Linked DNA regions of Homo sapiens: regions 1 and 2 are each linked to region 3. The links are contacts of gene promoters, found by promoter capture Hi-C in blood cells and fetal thymus (Javierre and others, 2016). All regions are on one chromosome and are shown on one strand. Each heading gives the region's core, a stretch centred on a gene start or on the middle of the fragment in contact. The rest is flanking DNA. Distances are from core to core; before and after follow the strand shown. Region 1 has its middle 26 kb from the start of YTHDC1. Region 2 holds the start of TMPRSS11E (transmembrane serine protease 11E). Region 3 holds the start of UBA6 (ubiquitin like modifier activating enzyme 6).

The links. Contacts are between HindIII fragments. The CHiCAGO score rates a contact against its expected background, and 5 or more counts as called.
Region 1: a contact is called between a fragment that was not itself captured here and the fragment with the promoter of UBA6 in region 3, in 2 of 17 cell types (non-activated CD4 T cells and total CD4 T cells). The highest score is 6.9, in non-activated CD4 T cells.
Region 2: a contact is called between the fragment with the promoter of TMPRSS11E here and the fragment with the promoter of UBA6 in region 3, in 6 of 17 cell types (non-activated CD4 T cells, total CD4 T cells, total CD8 T cells and 3 more). The highest score is 12.0, in non-activated CD4 T cells.

Annotation. Positions count from the first base shown.
Region 1 is chr4:68,374,099-68,378,679 of GRCh38, reverse strand. It overlaps the pseudogene MT2P1. Among named protein-coding and RNA genes, the nearest start is that of YTHDC1, 26 kb to the right of the region's middle. The HindIII fragment of the contact is 4,533 bases long and covers 269-4,581 here.
Region 2 is chr4:68,444,541-68,448,947 of GRCh38, reverse strand. TMPRSS11E (transmembrane serine protease 11E) reads right to left here and starts at 1,485. Exons shown (of 10, transcript NM_014058.4): 1 at 1,425-1,485. The coding sequence starts at 1,435. The HindIII fragment of the contact is 3,931 bases long and covers 414-4,344 here.
Region 3 is chr4:67,699,014-67,703,446 of GRCh38, reverse strand. UBA6 (ubiquitin like modifier activating enzyme 6) reads left to right here and starts at 2,292. Exons shown (of 33, transcript NM_018227.6): 1 at 2,292-2,398. The coding sequence starts at 2,328. UBA6-DT (UBA6 divergent transcript) reads right to left here and starts at 2,169. Exons shown (of 2, transcript NR_015439.1): 1 at 1,963-2,169. RefSeq lists silencers at 2,199-2,268, 2,399-2,568. The HindIII fragment of the contact is 4,018 bases long and covers 1,358-4,433 here.

The DNA of each region.
Region 1 (4,581 bases), core at 1,286-3,785, 670 kb before region 3:
ATATATTTTAAATATCACGTCTGAAGATAGGAAATAGCGCAAATTCTCATGTACAATGTGTAAATAAACTCATGGGATTTTGTCGGGGGTGGGGGTTGGGCTTTGTTCCTCCAACAAATACGCACATATACATACGACATGCATGACACCTATGTATACGCTCCAAAATCTCTGGGATAAAGAAAGCAATACAGTGTGTCTCTCTTCCTGAAGCTGTTTATATTAAAGATGCCTCTGGCAGTTTTTCATCTAAACACGTTACAAAGCTTCACTTGTTCCACACTTTTCACATCTCTTGGTTAACTTCTGGATTGATTCCTTGTCTTACTTGAGCACATCCTCCCAAAGTGTTTTCAAACAGAATTTTTGTCAGCCTTCTGAGGCCTTGTGTACCTTACAATAACTTATTTCAGCCTTACATTGAATTAATTGGATATAGCATCCTAGCTTCAAATTTCTCTTATTTCAACAATTTCTCTGTCCTCTTTCTATCAAATACACTCAGCCCTATGTATCTTCAGGTTCTGCATTTACAGATTCAAACAACCTGGGACCGAAAATATTCAAGAAAAAACCAAATTAACAATTAAAAAAATACAAATAAAAACCAAAGCAGCATAACAACTATTTACATAGCATTCCTATTGTATTAGGTATCATATGTAATATAGAGATAATTGAATGTATACAGGAGGATGTATGTAGATTATGAGCAAACAGGCCATTTTATATAAGGGAATTGAGCATTCCTGGATTTTACTATGAAGGCAGTGGGTCCTTGAACCAATCCTTGAAGATACTGAAGAAAGACTGTACTAATATCACTCTTTCGTCCTGCAAAATTCTGTCACTGTATCTTACCTTTTCTCTCAGTTTTTTAGCACTGCTTTGTCCTTCCTGAGTCCTTCTAGAAGAGTTGATTGACCTGATCTTTCAGCTCACTAATTTGTATTTCAAGTGTGTTCACTCTGAAAAGCAGTATCTAAAAAACATCTATAAGGTTTATCTAATACCATACTTACTGAGTTATTTCAGTTATTAGGTTTTTCATACTGAATATCTCCAGTTGGTCCTTCATAACTGATTTTTCTGATTCATGTTTCTAATTTCCTCCTTTGGGTCTCTAAAAATATTTTTAGTCCTTTTAAAACAATTATTACACTTTTGAACATTTTTTTCTATCTGATCCATTCATTTGGCTTCCTCTTTTATTTTTATTTTTTTAGCTTCCTCTTTTAAAGATATCTGTTTGCCTACCTTCTTTTCATAATACATACATTCTTCACATTTTGTGATTTTGTTATTTTTTTCCTGTGAACATACAGTCCCTTATGGTCTTGGATGATATTCAGATGATTTAATAACAAGGACAGCATGGACACCAACTAATCCTAACAGAATGCTGAACATATTAGAACAGATAGATGCTCACTGTTAACTACCTGATATGGGCTCAATGACTGTCGTCCTAACTTGAGACTATCAGCTAATCATACTAATTAAGTGTACTATTATACCCTGATTAGTATCCTCAGATTACAAAGTTATTGTACCAAAAATCTCCTCCTAAAGACCCAATTCTGATGTCAATTTGATCTAAACTGGTTGACAACATAATTTCTAAATCTTTTCCCTGCAATGATTAAAGTATAATCCAACAGCTTCTTAAGATTTAAAGATAAGATTTTCAAGATCATAAAAGGTTTAACATAAGAAAGACTGTACTAATATCACTCTTTTGTCCTGCAAAATTCTGTCACTATGTCTTAACTTTTCTCTCAGGTTTTTAGCACTGTTTGTCACTTCCTAAGTCCTTCTAGGTAAGGACTAAGATAAAATAATTCCAAGAAAAGACCTCATGCTAGGAATAGTCTGTTTACCATCCAGCAAGAGTATTCTTTTTATTTCCAAATTAGATAACCTGCTACAATCATGAATTATTTTACATAGTTTATTTATATTAAAATTTAATAAAACAGTGGTAAAGTTTATCTGGTACTTTAATACTATTCTCTTTTTTTTTTTTTTTTCAAGTCAAAGCTGTTTTATTATCATTCACATTATTTCATAGAAAAAGGAATGTAGCAAACGTCAGGGTCAGGGTTGTACATAAAAAATCCAGGTTTGTAGAGGTCGCGTTATTTACATCTGGGGGCAGGGCTGTCCCAGCATCAGGCACAGCAGCTGCACTTGTCCGACGCCCCTTTGCAGATGCAGCCCTGGGCACACTTGGCACAGCCCACAGGACAGCAGGAGCAGCAGCTTTTCTTGCAGGAGGTGCATTTGCACTCTTTGCACTTGCAGGAGCCGGCGCAGGTGCAGGAGTCACTGGCGGCACAGGAGCAGTTGGGATCCATGGCGAGCTGAAGAGGCGGCTGGAGTCGGGACAGGTTGTACACGGGCTCGCTGGGACTTGGAGGAGGCGTGGTCAATACTGTTGTCTTTTTAAACTTTTGTTCAACATTTCAGTATCAGACTATTTCTTCTTTGGCACTTGCTTTCAATTCGCCTATCTTGCCACTAGATGGAGAGGGATGCCACTAGGTGGAGGGTGATGCCTACCACTAGATGGTACTTAAACTTACCTTCTTGCATTCAACAGCCTAAAAGATAGCTGTTTAAGTTTAACGTGTATATACAGGGTCTTGTCTTAATATGGTGAAAAATTAATGTTCCAGTTTCAAAAGCGAACTTATAACATCTTTTTTCCTCTAGGTCATTGAAACAAGAATTCTCTCTCTCTCTATCTTTCTCTTTCTCTCTTTAAATTGTTTTTACAGACGGGGTCTCCTTCTGTCACTCAGGCTATAGTGCAGTGGCATGATCATAGCTCACTGTAGCCTTGAACTCCTCGGTTCCCACCTCAGCCTCCCCAGTAGCTGGGATTACAGACTTAAGCCATCATGCTGACGAGCCTTCTTTAATACCTATGCTAAAACTCCATGTACTTATTTGGGAAGAAAAGGGAAGATGGTTAGCCCCATGAATAGTGACAATAATAATAATAAAGTTATCACCATTTCAGGATGGTGCTGTACATGCCACCTGCTGGAGAAAAAAGATGTGGGAGGTGTTACACTGACAGCCTGAGGGTTCCCCAGGAATTCATTTAGCCTCATTAATTCGGGGAAGGGTAGTTATTCCACCAGCAAATTCCAGCAAGCGAAATGGCAGCTTTGGACATTTGGGCCTCTCTAGTTTCTTTGAGTTATACAGTGCTTCCTTATAGAATTTATTTCCTTCCATGGATCTTACTGTGAGTAGCCAGATATCTAAATCCTGGGCTCATGCACAAGTAACCCCCAGACCTCATAAAATTATACTGCTGTATATTCGTACACTTACATTTCAAGTCTAGCATTTGCATCTAAATTCATTTGGCTGCATCATAATCAAGTCACATAATCTTGCTTTCATTTTAAGTCTTACAGGCTTCAACTAAGTTTAATTTTGAAAACAAGGCAGGGCGCGATGGCTTACGCCTGTAATCCCAGCACTTTGGGAGGCCAAGGCGGGTGGATCACTTGAGGTCAGTAGTTTGAGACCAGCTTGGCCAACATGGAGAAACCCCGTCTCTACTAAAAACATGAAAAATTAGCCAGGCGCGGTGGCTCACACCTGTAATCCCAGCACTCTGGGAGTCTGAGGCGGGCAGATCACTTGAGGTCAGGAGTTCGAGAATAGCCTGGCCAACATGGTGAAACCCTGTCTCTAATTTAAAGAAAATACAAAAATTAGCCAGGCGTGGTGATGCATGCCTGTAATCCCAGCTCCTTGGGAAGCCGAGGCAGGAGAATCGCTTCAACCGGGGAGGCGGATGTTGCAGTGAGCCGAGATCAGGCCACTGCGCTCCAGCCTGGGAGACAGATCGAGACTCCATCTCAAAAAAAAAAAAAAAAAAAAAAATTGAAAACTGTAAAAGGAACATTTTTTTTACTATATACTTGAAAGATCAAAAAAGAAGTGTCTATCTACCAATACAGAGCTACAGTAAGAGGTCACTAGACATTAAGTTATTTATTTCACTGGTAATAATTTTACATGGTTGAACGTTCATGTTAAGTTTCTCACCATGCGAGATGCGAGATGATTCATAAATACATTGCTGGGAAATACTGGGGAAACAGATCGTCTAAAGACTTAATTGCGGCCGTGCGCGAGGGCTAACCCCTATAATCCCAGCAATTTGGGAGGCCGAGGCCAGAGAATCACCTGAGGTCGGGAGTTCGAGACCAGCCTGGCCAATAGGACAAAAACCCCATCTCTACTAAAAATACAAAAATTAGCCTAGTGTGGTGGCGTATGCCTCAAATCCCAGCTACTCTGGAGGCTGAGGCACGAGAATCTCTTGAACCCGGGAGGCGGAGGTTGCTGGTGAGCAGAGATTGGCCACTGCACTCCAGCCTGGGTGATAGAGTGAGACTCCATCTCAAAAAAAAAAAAAAAAATCTAATCGTAATTCACTTGTGGTGAGAATTAAAATCTTCAAACTAGCCAAAGAAATTCATAGTTTTTAAATAATATGTCACTTTCCTTTTCAAAAGCATTGACAAATGTATTAATCATGACTGACAATATGGA
Region 2 (4,407 bases), core at 236-2,735, 750 kb before region 3:
TTCCTCGATAACACTCCTGTTGGCACATTTACGACAGCAAATGTGAATAATAAACTTAATCCTTTTTTGCTCTAGTACATGCTCTTAACATTTTATCTCATCTAGACCCACTCAAACATAGATGTGCTTCATCTTTCATACAATCTTCAGATCAGGAAGACGTTTTTGTTTGTTAGATGGTTGGTTTTGGTTTTTGGTTTTTTCCATGAGAGATTATTTGCATCTATTCTGCAGCAGGATTTTTAAAAATAGTCACATCTTTTGCTTCAAATTAGAGACTACACTCAGAAAAATTCACTCCAGTATTCCCACATTATACCGCCTCTACACATTTATAACCAAATTCCAAATCTCTGACATATACCATAGATAAGGCTTGTAATCTATTTAGTATGTTAAGTTTATTGGAAGCTTTCTTGAAGCACTGTTTTCTATAGTAAAGTCAATGAGAAAAAGAGAATAGGATACAAAACCATCATTGGTTGTAAAGAAATACTTGCAAAAGGCAGGGAGCCTTGATAAGCCCAACAAAATGTTTAGTATCCGTAGCTTTTAGTTGCTTCATGGATATGTACAGAAGAGTATTAAACTTCTAATAACAAGTATGTAGAACTTTCAACTGATGACAGAACCTGTTTTTCCATGTTAAATGAAGACCACAGATTTCATTCAAAGTTTAACATTTTCAAACTGTTCTCAAAGTAAAAACTAATAAAAAATGATATGCCAATATGAGAATCAGAGAAAATAAATTTTAATCAGGAGATAAAATTATTTTCAAAGACAAAACTAGTACCCCAAAACCTTGTTACTGATTAGTTTCTAACTTTGAAAGAAAACCTCAAAATGATCATGACTTATCTTTGGAGAAGTTGACTATGGCCAGGCATATCAGTGGATTTATTTTTTAAATCAGGCTATAATAATTTAGTCATATTATTTTCTTCAGTTGTTTCTGATTCTTTCAAAACATCTAGAGTTTTTAAATTTTTAACTACTTACAGAAATAAACATTTTTTTCTGCATTATTTCAGACTTTTTTTCATGTACACCTTCTAAAATAAAAGTGTTTCTCAATAAGACAAACAAAGCCCAAGCTAAAAATATGTTATATCTTTCTTGAAACATATGGCCAAACTAACTAAAAGACAGCTGTCAAACACCATGTACCTTTACATTGTGTAGAAACCTTCTAAAAGTAAACAGAAAAACACATGGGATACAACAAAAGAGGACAGGAAACACTAATACAGAAAGAATAGAAATCTTTTTCTTGACATAATTTTATGTAAAATCTCAAAAATATGTTTCTATATTTAAAAAAATAATAAACTGTAGATCTACACATTCCTTGGTGTGGCTCATACTGTTTTAAACTAAAAGTTACCTTAAGACTTCTAGAAAGAAAAAGGGAACTAACTCACCGATACATCATTGCCAACCAGCAATGAAGAGTCCTGTGAAGGTCGAGGTCTACATCCAAGTGTGTGAATCCAGCTCTATCAATGACTTTGTGGGCTGAATTGAAGTGAGGAAATAAGTCACTGATGATCTCAACAGAACCAGTCTGACAAGTCTTGGCTGGTGTAGTGGGGACTATATGTGACTAGCAGGACAAGGACAAATTTTACAGGGAGCAAGAGCAAAAAATAAATTTATAATTTATTGTTTTAAGATAATTTCTTTTAAGTATTAGTGTAAACCAGATTTTTTAGAAAAGTCAGACGTATAAATTTGGAAAGAAATTTTAAAACTATCTTGCTTGACCTTCTCTTGTTTACAGAGAAGAAACTGAGGTTTAATTAAGTTAAATGACTTGGTCAAAAACCAAATAGTTATTAAATTGCCAAGCCAGGACTGACATTCATATTTTTTAAACTAGCCTGACACAATTTGCATTCGATTATGTACATAATAAAAATTTCACTTTGGTTTTAACTATGTTAGCCATTGAAAATACACTAGAGATTAGAAAAGCATTAATATTTTTAAATTATGTGGCATCATTCTTCTAGAAAAATCAGTTAGTTTGCAAATGTCAACCCATACTTAAGACGTTATATTTCTTTCATTATAGTGGAGACAGGCATATCAACTCACGCTGAATCACTACTGTCTTATTTCTAGGGTGAAAATTACATTTTTTTAAACGTGTGCTCACATACTATGCAAATATCTGTGTGTTTGTGTTAGGTATAATCTCTAAATTGCTTTCCCTAATCCTTACAAAACAGAGTAGGTGTTTCTCCTCTGTGCTTTCATGGTATCATAATACTTACCTCATTATACTAGAAATTTTATTAATTGTATCTCAACTCCACAAGGTTGTGAATTCTTAACAGACTGAAACCCTCTTCCTAGCATATTCAGGCTCTCAAAAATATGCATAAAAAGAATGAGTAGAGGGCAGGTTGCAAGGAAAGGAGGAGAAAAAGAGGGGGTATAACCCATCCTAAAAAGCACCTTAAAAATATTGTTTAATTTCATTACATATCCATTTAGCCAACAGCTCACCTAAACAGATGCAGGAGTTGGAATTTATGTAATGTGTGGGATCAGACGGCCAAGAATTGGAATCATTCACTAGCAGTAACCCAAGAAACCTCTGTGCTGAGGCATACTGTGCTAGGGGCTACCAACATATATCCTTTTTATTCTGGTCACTAGGTCACTTATCCTGATGAATAGCATGGATATTTATTTACTTAAAGTCATTCAATATATAGTATTAGGTTTCTGTATACTCATTTAAAAATTACACTTTAGCCAAAAATAAAGAGGCAATAATAACAGTAAAAACTTCTGGGTTATGAGATTAAGCTGTTCTTATACAGCCTTTAACAAAGTGAAATCTCTGCCAATGAAATGTTAATATGGTTTAATAATACTATGTTCTATTTTATACTCACATTTTATGAAAATATTGATAATACTTTTGTTTTCAAAGGAAAACAGATTCCCTCTCAGTGTAACTTTGGGCCAAGACTTGCCAGACTTATTTTAACAAAATCTCAAGACATTTGTTTCTTTCACAAAATCAAGATTTCAAATTCAAATAAATTCTTTATATAGGCCTATGGACCTGTATACTTAGGGTAATATATAACCTAGAATTGTAGATACAGAAAATGAGAGGGCTATCATGAATTTTTTTAAAACTCTGTGAGTATAAGCTACAATTTGTAGAAAATTAAGAGATTACGCATATGTAAATAAAGGACAAGTGAATGTCAGACTAAAGATATTAAAAATATGTCTTCCTTGCTATATTAATGGCCTTTGTTCAGTCTGCTCAATGGGCATTGCAGTGTATATTATCAAATTTTATGATATATCTTACACTTTAGTAGAAATTTGAATGGCAAGGAAAGAAGAAGGAATGAAACATTAGAGTCATAATTTTGTCTTCCAAAAGTTCGAAAAAGCAAAAGTTTGTCTTTCATTCAAATTTTTGTTGCTGTTTTTTCTAAAACCATAAATTTTATTCTGCAATACTTTTGTCCTAAACTACAGTGTGAAGAAAATGTTTTCAAAGAGTTACTCTTCTTTTTGTGTGTTGGTCTGTGTTCCCTGTGCCATTCTGTGCAATGTCAGGAACAGTCAGGAGAAATATATTTGTGGACTTGAGTCTGTTAGAAATCCACAGTAGATATCTTACATTGCATAATAAGTAAAATAGCAATGTGACCACAGACATTTTTATCACCAACAAATTATTCTACAGTCCTTTTTATACTTAGCAATGTCAAAGCAATGAGGCATCTTATGGCTTTAAACTAGAAAAGTATAGTTCCCAGGTGGCTAGTCATAGATGATTTTTATCATTATTTGAATATCTCCTAGTTTGAACAAATGTCTTTTATACCTGATAATACATAAATGCCTATGTATAATAATAATCTGATTAATTTATGGAAGCCCTTAAACTTATACTTTAGCTATATTTCCATAATGCTAAGGCAATCCTTTTATTGGTCAGTTTATTGGGATGTACATTACAGACTGGCCAATATTGTTAAACTAGTGAATTAACTAGGTGTCCAGGTAAACACAGCTATTGTCATTTGTGAATCCATTCCCTTCTATCATGTGTTGTTTTGAAGGTACCCATGCACTTTATTTTGTTTAAGCTGAGAAAACAAAGAGGATCAATATAATTAATTAGCATTTAGAGACAAGCTGTCACTACTCTGTCACTGACTCTCCTTTTGCTTGTGCTACATTCTTACCCAAAATATTACCTCTCTTCCCTATTCTTCTATAAGATGTTCTACAACTGATATAAGTGTCTTCATAATGCTGGAGATAATTTTTCTGGACATTGATGTGAGGATCTGCTAAGCTTTTCAATATATAATGGTACATATAATAAAAACCAAAGATAAGGTTTTTAGAATTAACTGACAG
Region 3 (4,433 bases), core at 1,043-3,542:
AAAATACAAAAAATTAGCCGGGCGTGGTGGCAGGTGCCTGTAGTTCCAGCTACTCGGGAGGCTGAGGCAGGAGAATGGCGTGAATCCGGGAGGCAGAACTTGCAGTGAGCCAAGATCCCGCCACTGCACTCCAACCTGGGCAACAGAGCAAGGCTCTGTCTCAAAAAAAAAAAAAAAAAAAAAAAAAAAAGAGCAACAAAAAAAGCATCAAGTTCAAATCCATGCAGTTATTATGTGAAGAGAATAAGGAATATAACATCATCATCAAAGATAATAAAAACATGCCTGAAAGATGCACTACAAAACAATTTATTATTTTGAAACTAGCTAAATGACATTAGAGAAATGATAAAAGATATGGAAGAACTTGATTCTGAATTAGAAAAACCTCAGAAATGAGGTGACAGAACTCAGGAGAATTAGTAATAAAGAATAAACTACAAGAAACACAAAAGCTAATAAATGCAACAGATTATGATTTGCTGTAAAGAAACCGAGTCAATCCTTAGATCAATGTTTCTGTAATAATTCTGATTGTCAGACACTTTCTCCAATTAATTATTAAGGAGGGGCTCATGAAAACACTAGTCTCACCAAATTGATATATCAATTGTTGATAACAGTTTGTACCTTTTGTATATTAGTTTTGCTGAATGTAAAATCTTTGGCCTACATATTTTTCCCTTAAGTTTCCTCAATATGTCATTCTACTTTCTTATGACATAAAGCCTCACTGTCAAAAAGCTGTGATCGCCTAGTTTTCTTTCCCATTTTACATATGTGACAAAACATTAAAATCTGTTAAATCTGGTTGCTTGTTACATGCCTGAAATAATTCACACCATATTTTATCAAATCTAACATGCCCTCAATTTTAAGATGCATCGTTTTCTGTATTTATTTTTTAAAAATTCATCCTCTATTCATGGATGTTAAAATATGAAGAAGCGTGGGTAATGGCAGGCCATTGTTTTGGCCTAGCCTTCTACACTAGGCCCCATCAGATCAAACCAGAATGGAGTTGCTTGTGCTAAGCACCATGTAATTAAAGTGGATTTTGAAAAAATGAGCCAGTTTTTTTTAAAAAAACAGGAGATTCTAGTTAACCTAGTGGGCATAATAAGGAAGTATGCTCTGTTTTAACCTTTACAAGGAAAGAAACTTTGAAATAATCTGATTTTTGTTCTGTTTCTGCTTTCTTCAATCTTTTTCATTATCTTCAGTCCTGTAGCATTATCTTAGTGCTAGAGCAGAGCCTTGAAAGAATAGAACACAGATCAAGAACATTTTAATGTGGAAAAGGTTCACAACTGGATTGAGGAACACGGATAATGCTATAGGTGAGCAACATAAAGCTTCCAGGTATTTTAAGATGTGCAATTTTGAAGAGAATAGAGGGCACGAAGGATAATACAGTTTTGCCTGGACCCTCATCTCCATATGAGAGGAAAAATTTCTAATTAAAAATATGATACATCACAGAAAATTACATAATACCCAAAGTATATGCTAATTTTAAAAATCCTGCAGATGTTTATTCAAATATACAGTGTTATTTAGTGAAAGACAAATCCTAATGTTATTGTGTCCAACTCATTTTTGCTTTCTAAGAAAGGTGACACGGAAGTAAATGAAAAAGAATTATATGAGAACTTTTTAGATATGTGTTCTGGTAATCTAACAGTGACTAGCTCTATAACCTTGACCAAGTCACTTGCACTGACCGGAAGTTCCTTTCCCTTACCCACAAATTTAAGGGACCAAACTGGATGATCTAACGACATCTATGGCACTAAAAGTCACATGATTCTATTAAATCTGAGGCAGCGCCTCACATGTAGTGGACTCCCAAAATTATTTATTAAATGTATAACATCTTTAAGTGGTATCCCCTCACTGACAATCTGGAGCTATTAGCAGCCTTCAGTTTATTTATAAAATAAAGCTGTTTCCTCTTCTTACCGTTAAGACTCTTTTAAGGATTTGCAACGCTATCCCATCATTTCGCGGGTTACTAGAGTCCTGCATGTTTGGCTGTAGAGCAAGGGTGACGCGTAACTTCTGGACTTTGGTTCCATCTACATCTGCCGGATGCGGATGCCAGTCGCAACAGTAACGCCCCCTTCGGCCACCTGCACCACAGCACGCCATGCGGCCACACCCAAACCGGAAACCAGGACGCCCCTAGGGTTGACGGGAAGGCGCTGCCGGGCTCCTAGCTTCCCCAGGCCCGCCCCCTCTGATGACGTCTCCGCCCGCCCCTTGACCCCCCCACGGTCCCGCCCCTTCCTACCTTCCAGTAGCCGGCGGCGGTGTCTCAGGCGGCAATGGAAGGATCCGAGCCTGTGGCCGCCCATCAGGGGGAAGAGGCGTCCTGTTCTTCCTGGGGGACTGGCAGGTGAGAGGACGAGAAGGGCGAAGGTGAGGGGTCGCGGGTGGGACCCAGGCTCCGGGTTTCTGCTTCTTTCTTTCCGGCGGGCTGGGGGCGCCCGAGAGGCCGCGGGGCCGAGCAGAGCCGGCCCTGGGAGGCGAGGGGCGCGCGCGGAGTGGGTGTGGCGACGTGGGCTAGGGCCTCTGCTGTTGCCGGCTTTCCTGAGGGAAAAGTCCCCTTTCCGCACCTTTGAGGGCTTTCTCAGTTCTGGCTGGGATTCGGGATCCTCCTTCCTCCAAGTCACCAGACTTGGGGGGCTCCGGTCGAGAGCGAGTTCTGGTCTCGGTCACTTGGCGTGAGCTTCCCCGACTGGTGCCAAGCACCTTTCCTCCTTTCCGTAAAAAGAAAGCTAGGAGCGCCACTGTGCACCTCCACTGAGATCCTCTTTTGAAAACTATTACCAGAAGGAACTTGGTAAGAATGAATCAGTAGCAATCTGGACACCCTGAGGCCTTTGTTGACTTCGGAAGAAGGAAAAAAAAAAAGCCAGGAAAAAAAAATACACAAGTTACCCATTCTTATTTCCCACTTGGTTTTGAAGTTCTTCAGGTCTTTCCCGCCCCTGTAAAATTAGGGGGAAAATATTTGTGCTAGGCCTTTACCAATTTCTTGGTTAGTAGTTCCTCTTTCAATCATCTCATAATTAATAAAGCAAGTGGTTACATTCTATCCACCACTGTCAGAATACACCATGCCAAAGATAGAATTGATGGATGTATTATTTTCAGCTGATGTGAGACTTTGTAAACCTGTAGCCTTTTCGCCAGTTTCAGACTGAAGGGATGCTTTCAGTTTCATGGTGTTGTCTGCCATTGCCAACACTGCCAGAGTGGAGGGATATTATGTAATATAACCCGCGCCTTATTTGAAGCGTTTTTGATTGTCTTATAGATCATATTATTTTTACATATTTTTGAAACATTCCAGTGAGGCACAACTTTCTGAAAAGGGCCAGTCACGCCATTAAGTGGCAGAGCTAGTTAGACTGCAGCTGTTCTCGTTTTTATTCAGATTTACCCACCAGGCCTATTGCCCCCGCCATGCAAGGAAAACAGCAAGTGAAAGTGTACTAGGGATAAAATGATAGGAAAGTAGATAATAAAAAACTTTGGCCGGGCGCAGTGGCTCAAACGCTTGCAATCCCAGCGCTTTGGGAGGTCGAAGCAGGCGGGTCGCTTGAGCTCAGGAGTTCTTAGACTAGCCTGGGCAACATGGCGAAACCGCGTCTCTACAAAATACAAAAAAATTAGCTGGGCGTAGGTGATGCACGCCTGTAGTCCCAGCTACTCGGGAGGCTAAGATGAGAGGATCGCTTGAGTCTAGAGAGATCGAGGCTGCAGTGAGCCGAGATCGTGCCACTGCACTCCAGTCTGGGTGACAGAGAGAGACCCTGTCTCAAAAAAAAAGAAAAGAAACAAATTTTGTTAATTTTTATATTTTGTTACAATGCCCAAACAGGGTATATTGTGTATGTGTGTGTTTTTTATTAGGTAGGTGATCTCTTAGAACACAGCTATCTTCTGATTTGCCTTGGTAATTGGAATCAGTTTTTTTAATAGCTATCCGTTTAATTAGCTAGAAGCTGGTATCATTTGATATGTGCCAGTGTTTGGTGAGATAAATGATAACATTTTAATTACCTTTGTTTACAAATTCTTTGGCTTATTTATCAATGCTAGGACTAGAAAGTTGGATTCCAAGCCTGAATTTGATGCCATCGCATTGTTTTTAGAATCTTTTAATTGACAACTAGAGCTTCTCAGAACTAGGAATGGCCTCCACTTCTGCCAGTATATTGATCTCAGCTCTCACAGTGGTTCAGCTCCAAATGCTCCAGACTGGTTCCCTGTACCTGGGAATTATCTCTGCTTGCCAGTGTTTAGTACAGATACGTTTTTTGAAGGCCATGCTGTGAAAATGGGACGAGCACTGCTATAAATAATATGTTACTATAATAAGTATACTTTGTCAGATTTGCATATTTAGATTAGTTTTTTTCCTT